5 separate regions of the Homo sapiens genome follow, and all the other regions are linked to region 1. Evidence: promoter capture Hi-C in 16 types of primary human blood cells and fetal thymus (Javierre and others, 2016). All regions are on one chromosome and are shown on one strand. The core of a region is centred on a gene start or on the middle of the fragment in contact, and the rest is flanking DNA. Distances in the headings are between cores, read along the strand shown. Region 1 holds the start of CAP1 (cyclase associated actin cytoskeleton regulatory protein 1). Region 2 has its middle 3.2 kb from the start of BMP8B. Region 3 overlaps TRIT1 (tRNA isopentenyltransferase 1). Region 4 overlaps TRIT1 (tRNA isopentenyltransferase 1). Region 5 overlaps MYCL (MYCL proto-oncogene, bHLH transcription factor).

Region 1 (2,623 bases), core at 54-2,553:
GAAAACTAGAGGGCATAATGGTACCTACCACCGAGAGTTGCTATTAGGAGTAAATGAAAATACGCTTGAAGAACTCAGCATGGGCCTGGCAAGTAGTCAGCGTGCAGTAAATGGTAGCTGTTATTTTAAGAACTTTATTTGTTGAATGATTGACTCTGGCACATAACGCCTGCATTCAACTTGAAACACGGAGCTGTCACAGTCGTTCAGCTGAAGGGGCGGGAACTGTGGCACTTGCCAATTTTTTCTAGAAATAAATCTTTGTGGGAGGATAATGACCGGTTGGAGAGTGTGAGTCTTGAGGGAACAAAGATCGGATCTCCCGGCCCAAGGAGTACGGAAGCGAAGCCTCCCCTGCGCGCGGCAGCCACCGTGCGTAACCTCCCCTGAACCGAGTAGCAGCCGCCTGAGCCCACCCAGCCCTGGGCGAGGCTGCCTCAGAAGCCGGATTTCAGCAGAGTGGGTGCAGGATCTGCTTTAATTCTGCTCATCTTATTCTCGGGGACCACACCCTGCGCGCCGGGAGGAAGGGCTCCAAAACCACAGGGCGGAGGCTTCCGCGCGGCCCCAGACTTGACCATCTATGGTCACAGAACACACCGACCAAACAGGAAGTGGGGTGAGAGCGGAGGGTTCCCTACCTTCCCAGCCCCGCGACTGCCAGCCGGGCTGGGGCTGACCCACCGCGCCCTCACTGACCCCCACGCCCTGCGCCCAGTCTCCGCAAGTCCTCCCACAACAATGTCCAGACTAATTGCCTTCCCACGTCACAAACGGGGAAACCGAGGTATGCACGCCCAGAGACAGGCGGAGCGTGGCCTCGATCACCACCGAGAGCTGACGGCCGCCCGGATTCCCGCCCTCAGAGAATCCTGGCCCCCAGTCGTTCCAAGACCCTTTACGGACTGCAGCTTAAAGGAACCGGCCTCTGCCATTGAGACCAAACTGACAGAGGAACTGGTCACTCTTCTGTTCTTTCCAGAGAGGAGCTTAGCCAGGGACTTCTGCCCTTCCTGGGCCCGGGCCTCGGGGGCGATTCCGGGTAGGTAAAGCGGAACGAGGGCGTGGCCTCTCTTGTGAGCCCGCCCTCCCCGTGTCGCTCCCGCCTTGAGGGCGGGGCTCTTTCCCAAGTGCCCTCTGTGAGAGCCGGGCCGCTCTCTCCGGGGCGTGGCGAAGAGGGGCGGAGTCACGAGCGGGGCGGTGAGACTTCCTGCCCAGTCGCGGGCCAGCCTAGCGCTTCAGCCGGCGGCTCATTTCCGGTGGGGGCGCCGCGCCCAGTGAGGGCCCGGAAGTGGGTCGCGCGGAGATTGCTGGGCGGTTCTTGCCGGAAGCGGAGAGCGGCTGATCGCAGTCCGGAGGTGAGGCGGAACTCTGAGGTGAGGGTGTGCAGCTTGGTAGGGATTGGGGTCCCTTCCGGGGCCCATCGGCCCCTGGTGGTGTTAATGGCCCTTCTGGCCTACGCGCGTGTCATGAACCCTGCCGAGAGGGCCGGGGCTGAGGCCCTCAGGCCGACCCGGACTCTTGGGCGCGGTCTCTTGAGGTGGGGCCGGGGTGAGCAGCTGAGTCCGGGTGCCCCGGGGAGGCCCCTCTGCCCGATTTCGCAGCGCTGCCCATCAGCTTCAGCGGAGGCCTGATTCCTGAGGTGCTCTGACTGGAAGGAACCTCCGAGATCGGAGAGTCTTCCCTGTCTCCTGTTGATGCTCCCATTGCACTGATAGGTAAATTGATCCCTAGAGAAGAGGCTAGTCTGAGATATATAGCGAGTGAGGAAAAGAATCGGAATCATGATCCTGGTGCCTTAGATAACCAGCCCCAGTTCTTCCCGTGTTGCTCGGAACCTCTCTAACTTGGGATGGTCTTCCGGTCGGTGTTGCCCCGCAGGCTGCTGCAGGTTAAAGGCCAGCGCTGCGTGGAACTTTTTTTTTTCTCTCCTCCCAAATTGAGCCGTTTGAAATGCCTAGGGAGTTTTTAAAAGAAAGGCGGGCACATCCTTGTATTTACAGGCAGATATCCTCCCTTTCCTCCTCGGCTGCTGCTCTTACTTTGACAAGCCAGGCTAACATTGAAGGTATGTACTTCTGGACCTGAAATCAGACGGCTCAGGTTTGGTCTGGCCTCAGTGCTGAGTGTCTGTGGCCATAGGTGCCTTAAACTTCTTTCAGCCTCCTTTTGTTCATCTTTTAAGTGGAGATCTCTGCTGACCCCACAAGATTAAATTCAGCGTAACAAATTGTGTTTATTCTGTGCCAGCATTTTCCCAGATGCGGGGAATGCAGCTTTAAAACAAAACAATGTAGACCCTGCCCGCGTGGAGCTAGCAGTGTTTGCAGGGATGTTTAAGAAGTAATTATAAATGTTGATGAGTGTTAGGAAAGAACAGGGTGCTCTGAAAGTATGTAACAGGGGGTTCAGGAAAAGCCCTTCTGAAGAAGCAGAGTTTTTAAGATGAATTTTGAAGGATAAATAGGAATGCGTTCGAAGAGTGGAATGAGAACATTTGAGACAGGTTAGCATCAGAACTGTGTCAGTTGAAGCTCTTTGTGGGGCTCTCTCTTCAAGAGAAAATCCGGGGGCATATCAGCACATTTATCATTTACCAGACTTTTATTTAATTTATTTATTT
Region 2 (2,623 bases), core at 56-2,555, 250 kb before region 1:
TTGTTATCATAATTTTTTTAATCAAGCTTATGTTATGGGATAATTATATTTTTATATTATATACTATGTTGTTATGAACAATCTTGTAGAATAATCTGTGCACATCCATGGTGATTTCTTTAGGATGAATTTCTAGAGATGGATTTTTTTTTTTTTTTTTTGAGATGGAGTCTTGCTCTGTCACCCAGGCTGGAGTGCAATGGTATGATCTTGGCTCACTGCAGCCTCCGCCTCAAGTGGTCTTTGTGCCTCAGCCCCCTGAGCAGCTGGGATTACAGGCGTGCACCACCATGCCTGGCTAATTTTTGTATTTTTAGTATACACAGGGTTTTGCCATGTTGGACAGGCTAGTCTTGAACTCCTGGGCTCAGGTGATCTGCCCACCCCAGCTTCCCAAAGTGCTGGGATTACAGGCGTCTAGAGATGGAATATTTGAATCAAAGAGCATATACACTTTTTATGGTTTTTGATACATATTATCTGTTGCCCCAATAGCACGAGGGTGCTTATTTTCTATCACCCTTACCAACACTAGATATAACTGTTAAATACATAAATAAATCAATCTCTGCTGGTTTGATAGATGAAAACCTCTCTGCTGTTGTAACTTGCATGTGGAGGGTTACTACACACTGCTCTCTTGTTTTTGAAACCCTGTCCTCCCCTGGCTTCAAGGACGCCTGCTCCCTTGCTGACCACTCCTCCCTGCCCACTTCTAAAACATGGATGTCTGCTGGGTCTGTCCACAGTCCTGTTCTCCCCTTAGACTTGACCTGGTGATGAGCTCATCCACTGAGGCTTCAGTGCCGCCATACAGTCACACCCAACTCCAAATATATTAGTAGGGCAGGCCTTCCTGCTAGATGCCAGAAGCTACATCCAATGACCGATAAGACATGACCAGAGCCAGAAGCCAAAACCCTGGCGCAGACACACGTCCCTCCCTCCCAAGGGCAGTTCAGTCTATTGATTCTACCTTCAAATGCCTCTTGAATCCCTGAGCCTGTGCACGCCCCTTTGCACTCAGGTGTTTCATGGAGCACCTCCTCCCCACTGGTCTCCTTATGTCTCATCTCACTACCCACCCCACCCAGCCCTCACTCATTCCGCAGAATGCATATTTCCAAATGAAAATCTGAATCCTTCCATGGCCTTTCATTGCTTACAGCAGAATTTCCCCAGGTGAGGATTCTGAGGGCTTTCCTGCAAAAGGGGTTCAGTACACACTGCGCTATATATTTCCCCCTTGGTAGAGCCCTCATGCACTTAGCACTTTGTAAGCTCTAGAAATCCTGCAGTAAAAATAAATAAATAAGTAAATTAAATAAATAAATAAATAAAAACCTGTTTAGCCTTAACTTGGCTTCTTCCAAATGCATGTGACTATAGCTTTTTAGTTTTTTGAGGACCACATCTTGGGGACCAGCAAGGCACAAGGTGATAAGCGCCCAGGACCCAGTGGTCTGGCATCATCACCTGGCCCCTGCTGCTGACCCATCTCCACAGTTTTTTTGTTTTGTTTTGTTTTTGTTTTTGAGACGGAGTCTTGCTCTGTCGCCCAGGCTACAGTGCAGTGGCGCAGTCTCGGCTCACTGCAAGCTCCACCTCCCGGGTTCACGCCATTCTCCTGCCTCAGCCTCCCTAGTAGCTGGGACTACAGGCGCCCGCCACCACGCCTGGCTAATATATTTTTTTTTTTTTTTGCATTTTTAGTAGAGACAGGGTTTCACTGTGTTAGCCAGGATGGTCTCAATCTCCTGACCTCATGATCCGCCCGCCTTGGCCTCCCAAAGTGCTGGGATTACAGGTGTGAGCCACCGCGCCTGGCCAATCTCCACAGTCTTATCTGGCTGCTAACCCCATATACTTGGCTGCAGTCCCATGGGAATACTTGTGGTCCTCCTACCTGTCCTCCTGTTGACACTTCTGTTCACCTGAACATGTGGTTTCCTGTACCAAGAAGGGAAACCCCTTTCCCTGTCTGGTCAGGTGTTACCTCCCTTTAAGATGCAGTTGAAGTAACACCTCCTTTTCCTGATGCCCTCTTCACCTTCATGAGCAGAGCCATTTCTTCCTTCCTCACTCTCTCAACCACTCCTTTTACAAAATAAAAGGGCATGTATTCACATGTTTGTTCCCTGCACTAGGCTGAGAGCTTCTGCAGGCAGGGACCATCATCTTAATTTACCTTTGGATCCCAGTGCGAGGCTTGCATTTAGGGTTTCAGTAAGTATGTGTGAAACAGAGTAGCCTCTGTTTCTCTGAAATAGCCTCTGAAAACAAGAGTCTCTCAACAGCTTCAAGGAACGGATCTCGCAACCTTCATGAACTCAGTAAGAAGTGCTTCCATTGAGAAGTGCTCATTATTTCACGGGGATGAAGAACAGAAGCACCAAGCTGTGTTAAAGTGAGGAGTCAGTGGCCAGTGGGGCTCACTCTCTTCGCTGTGTGACCGGCTCTCTTGTACATCAGCAACAAATGCAAATCCATGAATCTTCATGACTGAAACCATAAGGTTAAATTCATGACTGCTAATACCTACTGCATATAGAAAATGAAAAGAAACAATTTTAAAAAGCAGAGAAAAGCTTTCCATAAGAAAGATGCTACAGGAAAGCCTGAG
Region 3 (2,623 bases), core at 36-2,535, 200 kb before region 1:
ATAGATGGATAGACAGATAGATAGATAGATAGATAGATAGATACACACATACATATATACACATATATAAAATCACTTTATATAGTTTAAATATATATAATTTTATCTGTCGATTATATCTCAATAAATCTGGATAAAAATAAAAGGCTGACTTCAAGTAAAAAAACAAAAACACAAATAAGTGCTTTTAAGCAGCAGGCCCTTGTAGATGCCAGGGATAAAGCAGTGAACAACAGACAAACATCGCTGCCCTCACCAAGCTTTATCTCTGCTACTCGGCAAATATTTGCATGTTTACTCTGTGCCAACCACTGTTCATTAAGCTGTGTTTATAAAATGGTGATAACAGATTATCTTGTCCGTTTGTTTTAAGGAATCATTATAACGTATGCATGTGCTTGATATAATGCCTGACACACAGAAGCACTCAACACAGAGAAGCCATGTCTACGTTTAGACAGGGAGGTGTGTCTTGCAGAAATTAGCCTCGATATACATTGGGTGCCCACTATATGTTCCACAATCATCTTAAAATAGTACTCAGATCCTGGCAGAATTTACTTTCCAGTGGGAACAAGAGATAAATAACAGGTGCTATGAGCTGTGGCAAAATAATGAGCCAGAACAGACTCTGGAGCCACCCACCTATTTTCAAATCCCAGCTTGCCCTTGGGAAAGTCACCTAACTGCTCTACTCAGTTTCCTCAGTTGTAAGACAGAGACAACAAGAACAATGACAAAACTACCTCATAGGGCTTTGTGAGGATTAAATGAGTTAATATGTGTAAAAGTGCTTAAAGCAGTGCCTAGCTCATAGGACTACCTAAGCACCAGCTAATGTTAACACTATTACGTATTAACTGCTAGGAGGAGAAATTAAGTCTCCCTAGAGTCAAAGAAGCTTTTTCTAAGGAGAGGACATCAGATCTGGGCCTTGAAGGATGTGCAGGAGTTCACTAGGTAAAGAGCAGGGGAAAGGACATTTCAAGGGAAGAAAACAGTTCAAGCAAATGAGCTGACCCATGGAAGAAATCATATCATTGAAACAAACAAAACTTAACAGCTGAAGCCTAGGTGGGTGGCAGCTGAAGCCCGAGGCACCGTTTCTGGCCATTAGTACTATAGTCCACCAAACTAGTCAGTCTTAAGTCAGAGCTTGCCCTGATAACTTCCAAGAAATGATACCATATCATAAACCAACATTTTAATAGCATTAACAATTTTTCCCCAATGAAGCAAATAAATCCAATTTGTACTTACCATTTACTGGGCACTACAGTGCCAAAACACTATGCTATTTACAACAGGACCTCACTTAATCCTTACCATGTCCCGTGGAATACAGATAACTTCATTTTATACATGAGGAAACAGGCTTTTAAGCAATATTCCCAAGATCACACAGATAGTATATTAGAAAGTAAAGTGTTCAGCTGCAAATACAAATAGTGGTTTCTTTCTCCCCCTGTCCCCTCCCTGCCACATAAAGTCTGAAAGTAGGCAGTTAAGTCATTAGTTCAGTTATTCAACAATGCCACCAAAACACCTTCCATCTTTCCTCCCCACCATCTTTACAGTATGAGCCACTGGCCCTGATGTTTATACAGTCTCCCATTCCCTATAATGCTTTCTTATTCTCATCTTAAAGTCCTACCAGCCAGGATTTTCTCAAGCTTTACTTTTTGAAATATTTCAGAGGTCAGCTCAATACAACTCACTAATTTCACAGATGGAGAAATAGATTTGCCCCTAGCAAACTGAGTTAAATTAATTAGTTAAATGAGCCTGGAATTGAGTGCTCCTTCCATGATACCAATCTAGTGGTGACTGTAAGTTGCCCACCAAAACCTGTCCTCCCATTCCTTCTTGGCACATGGCTTGACTACGTTTCTCAGCCTTCCTGGCAGGTAGGTGTGGCCATCGGGCTAAGTCATTGCCAATGGAAAGTGAGAATGTAGGCAGAAGTATCCGTGCCACTGCAGGGTCCAGGCCTTGAGGCAGCGGGTCTACCTCCTCCCTGTTCCTTTTCCCCTTCCCATCAGCTAGGACCAGTGATGACCCAGCTTCAAGCATGCAGCAGATGAGGACAATGCTCCAGAGGATGGAGAAGCAACATGATACGAGGAATCTGTGTCCCTGAATGACCATTTGGTGCACAGCTGCCCCAATGACCTGGATCACTCACTTCAGACAGGTTAATTCCCTTCAGAGCTGTTACGTGAGAAAGAATAAACTTCTTTGTTCTTTAAGCCACTGTATTGTTGAGTCTCTTTGTTATAGCAACTTAGCCTTTTACCTGAACTAATACAAACATGCAGCTTCCTTTGTAAGCATTCAGAGTAGCTTTACAAATAACCAGTTAGCCATCATTTTAGAAAACAGCCTTAACTGCCCAAGTAGGTGATAATCAAATACAGAAATTCCTGCTGGTGGCTATCCCAAAATTTCTTCATCCTGGTTAAAAAGTATTTAACAATTGAAGCAGATCACTTATGTAGAGACCTACTTAGTTTTTATGCTTTCATGCAATTGATTCAACAAATATTTGACTGTGTCTAGGTGCTAGGGATATTGACAAGTCACTGCATTCATAAAAGGTTGATTTCATGCATGTGTGTTTGGG
Region 4 (2,623 bases), core at 56-2,555, 170 kb before region 1:
ACCCCAAGTTGAGACTACTGATATAGCTATATACATTAACATATAAAGATATCCATAACATAGTGTTAAAAGAAAATAGAATAGTATCTAACCTCTGAGTCAATTTATGTAATAACATATACACACATGACACATGTGCTTAAATATATATACAAATGTCTGGAAGGATGTGAACCAAAATCATTACTCCAGGATGCTAAGACTATGGTTAAATTGTCTCTGTACTTTTCAGTATTATTGGATTTTTTTAATAAGCATGTCTCATTTTTCTTTTCTTTTTTTTTTTGAGATGGAGTTTCGCTCTTGTTGCCCAGGCTGGAGTGCAATGGCGTGATCTCGGCTCACTGCAACCTCCGCCTCCTGGGTTCAAGTGATTCTCCTGCCTTAGTCTCCTGAGTAGCTGAGATTACAGGCATGCACCACCATGCTTGACTAATTTTTTTGTATTTTTAGTGGAGATAGGGTTTCTCCATGTTGGTCAGGCTGGTCTCGAGCTCCTGACCTCAGGTGATCTGCCCGCCTCAGCCTCCCAAAGTGCTGGAATTATAGGCGTGAGCCACTGTGCCCGGCCCCCGCATGTCTCATTTTTCTGAACACAAAAATGCTTTGTTCTCATTTTTTTCATAGTGCTTCCAATTCAATAACCAAAATCCTGTTGGTTCTGTTTACAAAATATCAAAATGGTTACCTATTCTCTCCAGCCAAAGCCCAACTCCAGCCTCTCTCACCCAGACTAATGTAACAGAATCCTAAACTGTTTTTCCTTCTCTAACCCACTCTCCACCCAGTTACTTCATAAAATAGATTTACAGGCCAGGTGCAGTGGCTCACGCCTGTAATTCCAACCCTTTGGGAGCCCGAGGTGGGCAGATCACGAGGTCAGGAGTTCGAGACCAGCCTGACCAACATGGTGAAACCCTGTCTCTACCAAAAATACAAAAATTAGCCAGGCGTGGTGGCATGCGTCTGTAATCCCAGCTACTCAGGAGGCTAAGGCAGGAGACTTGCTTGAACCCGGGAGGTGGAGGTTGCAGTGAGCTGAGATTGCGCCACTGCACTCCAGCCTGGGTGACAGAGCGAGACTCTGTCTTGAAAAAAAAAAATAGACTTACTACCACTTCCCTCTTTAAAACCTCAAACCTCATGGCATGACTTTTGAGGGCCTCAAAAATTTGTTCCCAGGGTCTATATTTTTAGTTTTACCTCCTACCACTGTCCCTCAAGTACCCTCTATGCCAGATAGTTGCTGGTCATTCCTTGAAAACATACCATGCATTTTCTTAACTTTGCCCATACTGTTCTTTTGTCAGTAATATTATTCTTCCCACTTTTCTGCTTGATAAAATGTACACAGTGGTACAGAGGAAAAGAATGGGATGGAGGATGAATGAATAAATAAATAAGAGTTAGAGGAAAAAGTATAAAACAGCATGGAGATGAGGATTTAATAAAGTAATTTTTGGTAGGGAGGAGACAATAACAGCACCCACGGCAAAAGGCTACGGTAAGGATATTAGATAATATTTGTCAAACTTTTAGAACTGCCTGACATATATATTATTCTTGCTATTATCTTCAGTAGTATAATTATTATGATCATTCCTGTAATGAGGGCTTGAACTCTGACTGCCACAATGAGGGAGGTACAGGGAGGCTGCTACTCACAAGCAGAGCCCCAAAGGGATCAAGAGGCCAACAGGGTCCTGGTCTGATTCAAGTTTCTGAGGAATCCAAAACTACACAGAAAAACAAAACCAATTCCATTAAATCATAATGGAGCACATATGTGAATTCCTATATACCCCAAGTAACTTTTACTCCTCAAATATATCTTTTTGAAGTGGAGCTGCTTCAACACCCTGCCTCAGGCACTGAAACATCAGGGTAGCACTCATCCTCATGAATCTGAATCTGCAAGCCTCATCTGTGCTCTCCTATGGTTTCCTGTTTGGCCAGTAGTCACTTCTCCTTCCTTATATAACACAGATTTGACTCCAAAGTTCTCCCTGTAGGTGCAAAAACATGACCACATATGTACAACATACACAGCTTAATACTGCAGCCAAAAGAAAACTAAATTCACTTACAATGGAGGTGAACCAAGGGACCTAGAAACTCATTATTTATATGTGTATCTATCTATCTATCTATCTATCTATCTATATATATATATGAATGATGAGTCGAAAATTTTGAGATTTCCTTTTTAGCCTCTTGTAAGTCTCAGTCCTTCTAAAAGACTGCCTTTGGCTGGGTGCAGTGGCTCACGCTTGTAATCACAGCACTTTGAGAGGCCGAGGCTGGCGGATCACCTGAGGTCAGGAGATTGAGACCATCCTGGCTAACACGGTGAAACCCTGTCTCTACTAAAAATACAAAAAATTAGCCAGGCGTGGTGGCGGGCGCCTGTAGTCCCAGCTACTCAGGAGGCTGAGGCAGGAGAATGGCTAGAACTTGGGAGGCTTAGGTTGCAGTGGGCCGAGATGGAGTCACTGCACTCCAGCCTGGGTGACACAGCAAGACTCCATCTCAAAAAAAAAAAACAAAAAAAAAAGGACTGCCTTTGTCAGTTGTGGCAAATACCTTCCAGATAGACCCCTTTTCTCCTGGTTAATGGGTCTTC
Region 5 (2,623 bases), core at 35-2,534, 150 kb before region 1:
AGGTGCATTATTCAGAGGCAAACCTAATTTGTAGAAATTGTCCTCTGAAATCCAGGAATAAACTCCTGACTATTTTCAGACAAAGATAGAGGTAGGAGTCTGTAGAAAAGAGCTAGGAAGGAGCTTAAAATACTTCGCATTCCAGAAACACCCTCCCTTCCCCCAGGAGATGGCTTTATTCCCACTCCTTTCTCAGCAGAGTTGACTCAAAAGAGCTGAAGCTTGGAGTCAGGCAGCTGGTACTAGGTGTGTGGGCTTAGGCAAACAACTTAAATGTCTCTGAGCTTCAGTTGGCTTTTCTGTGAAATGGGGCTGACAGCATCCTGCTCTCCAAGTTATTGTAAGAATTAAGATATGCAAAACTACTAACATTCATGCCTGTACCCATGGGTCCATACTATTGTACTAAGTGCTTTCAAAAATTTTTATTGAATTCTTTCAAGGTCCAGTAAAGGGAGATACGTCCTACAAACCAGACCCTTGACTAATGGCCTCAAAAAAGGAAGAAAAATACACTGGGAGTTTTAAGAAAAGAGTTCCAATAATCCATGTCAGTTTTACCAAACAGTTTCTTAGGTTCTAAGTGTGTTACCTATGTGCAGTGGGGGACAAGTGGAAAAAGCTTACCTGATAGGAGACTGGGCTTGGAATCCTGATTTTGCTATGACTTTGAGCAAGAAAACTCTCTGGGCTCCAGTACCATCAGGCAGATATTGCTTACTTACCAGGTTGGAGGGTCACAAGAGGGTCATTTTGTAAATGTGAGGAATTAAGAGGAGCTTTTTGACCGTACTGAGGCTCCATAGGAATTCGGGTGGGCAATACCAACCCAAGTCCCATCTGTAAGGAGGAGTTAGTGGAGGCTTCTTTCACCATGATGCTCATGGCCATCCTGAACAGCAACTGATTGCTTTTCAGTCCCAGATGGGGCCCCTTTGCAGCAAGACTATGCCACCCAGCACACATATGCCTCAGAGTTGCTGGTCATGGGACATTTGCTCCATTTCATCCCAATAAGTGGCAGGCACAATAGCCCCAAAGAGAGTTACAACAAGCAGTTAAATGACGGAATTCCACGTTTACCTTCTCCACATACCCCGTGCTAACAAACAAGCTGATCATCATAATATAGTGACTAAGACCTCTTGCTCTGGAGATAGGCAGAGCTGGTTTCAAATCACAACTGAATTACAAGCTTGTGAATTTGCATAGCTTTGTTTACTCTTAGAACCTCAGTTTCTTCATCTGTAGCCCTGACACATGGTTGATATGGCAGAGTGTTCAGACATAAGCAGTGCCCTATGAGGAACAGCTATTACTGAATTCCCCTGTCTTGCATTTACAGCAAGTTTATGAGAACTATGGGAGGAAAATGAAGCTTAAACTTTCTTTCATTAATTAAGGAGGAAGAATGTTTTTTTTGAGACAGGGTCTGGCTCTGTTGCCCAGGCTGGAGTGCAGTGGCGCAATCTTGGCTCACTGCAACCTCTGCCTCCCAGGCTCAAGCCATCCTCCCACCTCAGCCTCCCGAGTAGTTGGGACTACAGGCGTGTACCACCATGCCTGGCTAATTTTTGTATTTTTTGTAGACATGGGTTTTTGCCATGTTGCCCAGGCTGGTCTTGAACTCCTGAGCTCAAGCAGTCTGCCTGCCTCAGCCTCGCAAAGTGCTGGGATTACAGGCATAAGCCACTGCACCCAGCCAGGAGAAAGAATTTTAAAACTATCTTTCTGTAAGAAAAAAGTACATTGCAACATAAATTCTCAGAAAAAAACTTTAAAAGACATCTTGCAGAAGGTCATCATACCACTAAGATAAGAATAACACCATCCTAAAGAGTATAAGGCTTTATAGTTTAGAAAGCAGTTTTAAGTCTACCCCTTCATTTAATACCTGCAAAAACCCAGTGAAGTAGCATTTATCCCCATTTTACCGATAAGGAAACTAGGACTCAGAAAGATGAAACTAAAGGCTGCAGAAGTGGTGGAGCCAGGATTTCAAGCCTTCTAAAGTACAAATTCAGCACTCTTTGCAATTCACAAGAGAATTCCGTGTTCACTGAGTACTGAGCCTACATTGTTTCAACATGTCTGAAATGGCATTTCAGGAACCCAGAGTGGAATGACCAGGTTAGCAACATGGTTAGAGAAGTGCAGCCCTCTGGATCACTTGTGGCTACCCTGAAATAGTTTTCCGTGGTTGAGGAGGACTCAGGTGGCATAAGCTGCCCCCACTCTGACATGTTTGAGAAATCTTTTATTAGAAGATGTCCCAGAAGGCAACATTTTAAAATCAGGCAATCAGTAATCACAACTAAATACAAAATTTCAGGTGAACTTGCCTTTCAAAATAAATCAGACCCTTGCAACAGGAAATTGCCCCAAGAGTTTTTTTCCTTGTACAAAAACAGTTAACACCACTTTGCAAAAGGCATACAAAAATACAATATAAAAAAAAAAGACTCCCCCAGCATAATAGCCAACAGCAGCTTATAAAACACAAGCTATTCAGTTGAGACATCAGTAACCTACACCCAAACTGTCCTCCATAGACAATTCCAGAAGTCAGCTGGCTTTTGTAAACCATGCTCCAGAAGGGTAGAGAGGCTATTTCCAAACATCC

The links. Contacts are between HindIII fragments. The CHiCAGO score rates a contact against its expected background, and 5 or more counts as called.
Region 2: a fragment that was not itself captured here is called in contact with the fragment with the promoter of CAP1 in region 1 in 2 of 17 cell types (M0 macrophages and megakaryocytes); the score reaches 6.8 in M0 macrophages.
Region 3: a contact is called between a fragment that was not itself captured here and the fragment with the promoter of CAP1 in region 1, in 1 of 17 cell types (endothelial precursors). The highest score is 5.3, in endothelial precursors.
Region 4: a contact is called between a fragment that was not itself captured here and the fragment with the promoter of CAP1 in region 1, in 1 of 17 cell types (monocytes). The highest score is 5.3, in monocytes.
Region 5: a fragment that was not itself captured here is called in contact with the fragment with the promoter of CAP1 in region 1 in 3 of 17 cell types (M1 macrophages, M2 macrophages and monocytes); the score reaches 6.0 in M1 macrophages.

Annotation. Positions count from the first base shown.
Region 1 is chr1:40,039,426-40,042,048 of GRCh38, forward strand. It overlaps CAP1 (cyclase associated actin cytoskeleton regulatory protein 1), which reads left to right and starts at 1,304. Exons shown (of 13, transcript NM_006367.4): 1 at 1,304-1,376. It overlaps LOC105378669 (a long non-coding RNA gene), which reads right to left and starts at 1,021. Exons shown (of 3, transcript XR_001738013.3): 1 at 1-1,021. RefSeq lists enhancers at 322-955, 924-993, 956-1,590, 1,244-1,443, 1,514-1,603. The HindIII fragment of the contact is 17,502 bases long and covers 1-2,623 here.
Region 2 is chr1:39,790,716-39,793,338 of GRCh38, forward strand. No RefSeq gene overlaps it. Among named protein-coding and RNA genes, the nearest start is that of BMP8B, 3.2 kb to the left of the region's middle. The HindIII fragment of the contact is 2,562 bases long and covers 25-2,586 here.
Region 3 is chr1:39,835,835-39,838,457 of GRCh38, forward strand. It overlaps TRIT1 (tRNA isopentenyltransferase 1), which reads right to left. Exons shown (of 11, transcript NM_017646.6): 11 at 2,276-2,623. LOC105378667 (a long non-coding RNA gene) reads left to right here. Exons shown (of 4, transcript XR_947221.3): 4 at 2,043-2,121. Among named protein-coding and RNA genes, the nearest start is that of LINC02811, 20 kb to the left of the region's middle. RefSeq lists a silencer at 1,069-1,269. The HindIII fragment of the contact is 772 bases long and covers 900-1,671 here.
Region 4 is chr1:39,874,397-39,877,019 of GRCh38, forward strand. The region is part of intron 1 of TRIT1 (tRNA isopentenyltransferase 1); the gene reads right to left. Among named protein-coding and RNA genes, the nearest start is that of MYCL-AS1, 7.4 kb to the right of the region's middle. The HindIII fragment of the contact is 5,261 bases long and covers 1-2,623 here.
Region 5 is chr1:39,893,186-39,895,808 of GRCh38, forward strand. MYCL (MYCL proto-oncogene, bHLH transcription factor) reads right to left here. Exons shown (of 2, transcript NM_001033081.3): 2 at 2,243-2,623. The region is part of intron 1 of MYCL-AS1 (MYCL antisense RNA 1); the gene reads left to right. Among named protein-coding and RNA genes, the nearest start is that of MYCL, 7.4 kb to the right of the region's middle. The HindIII fragment of the contact is 183 bases long and covers 1,194-1,376 here.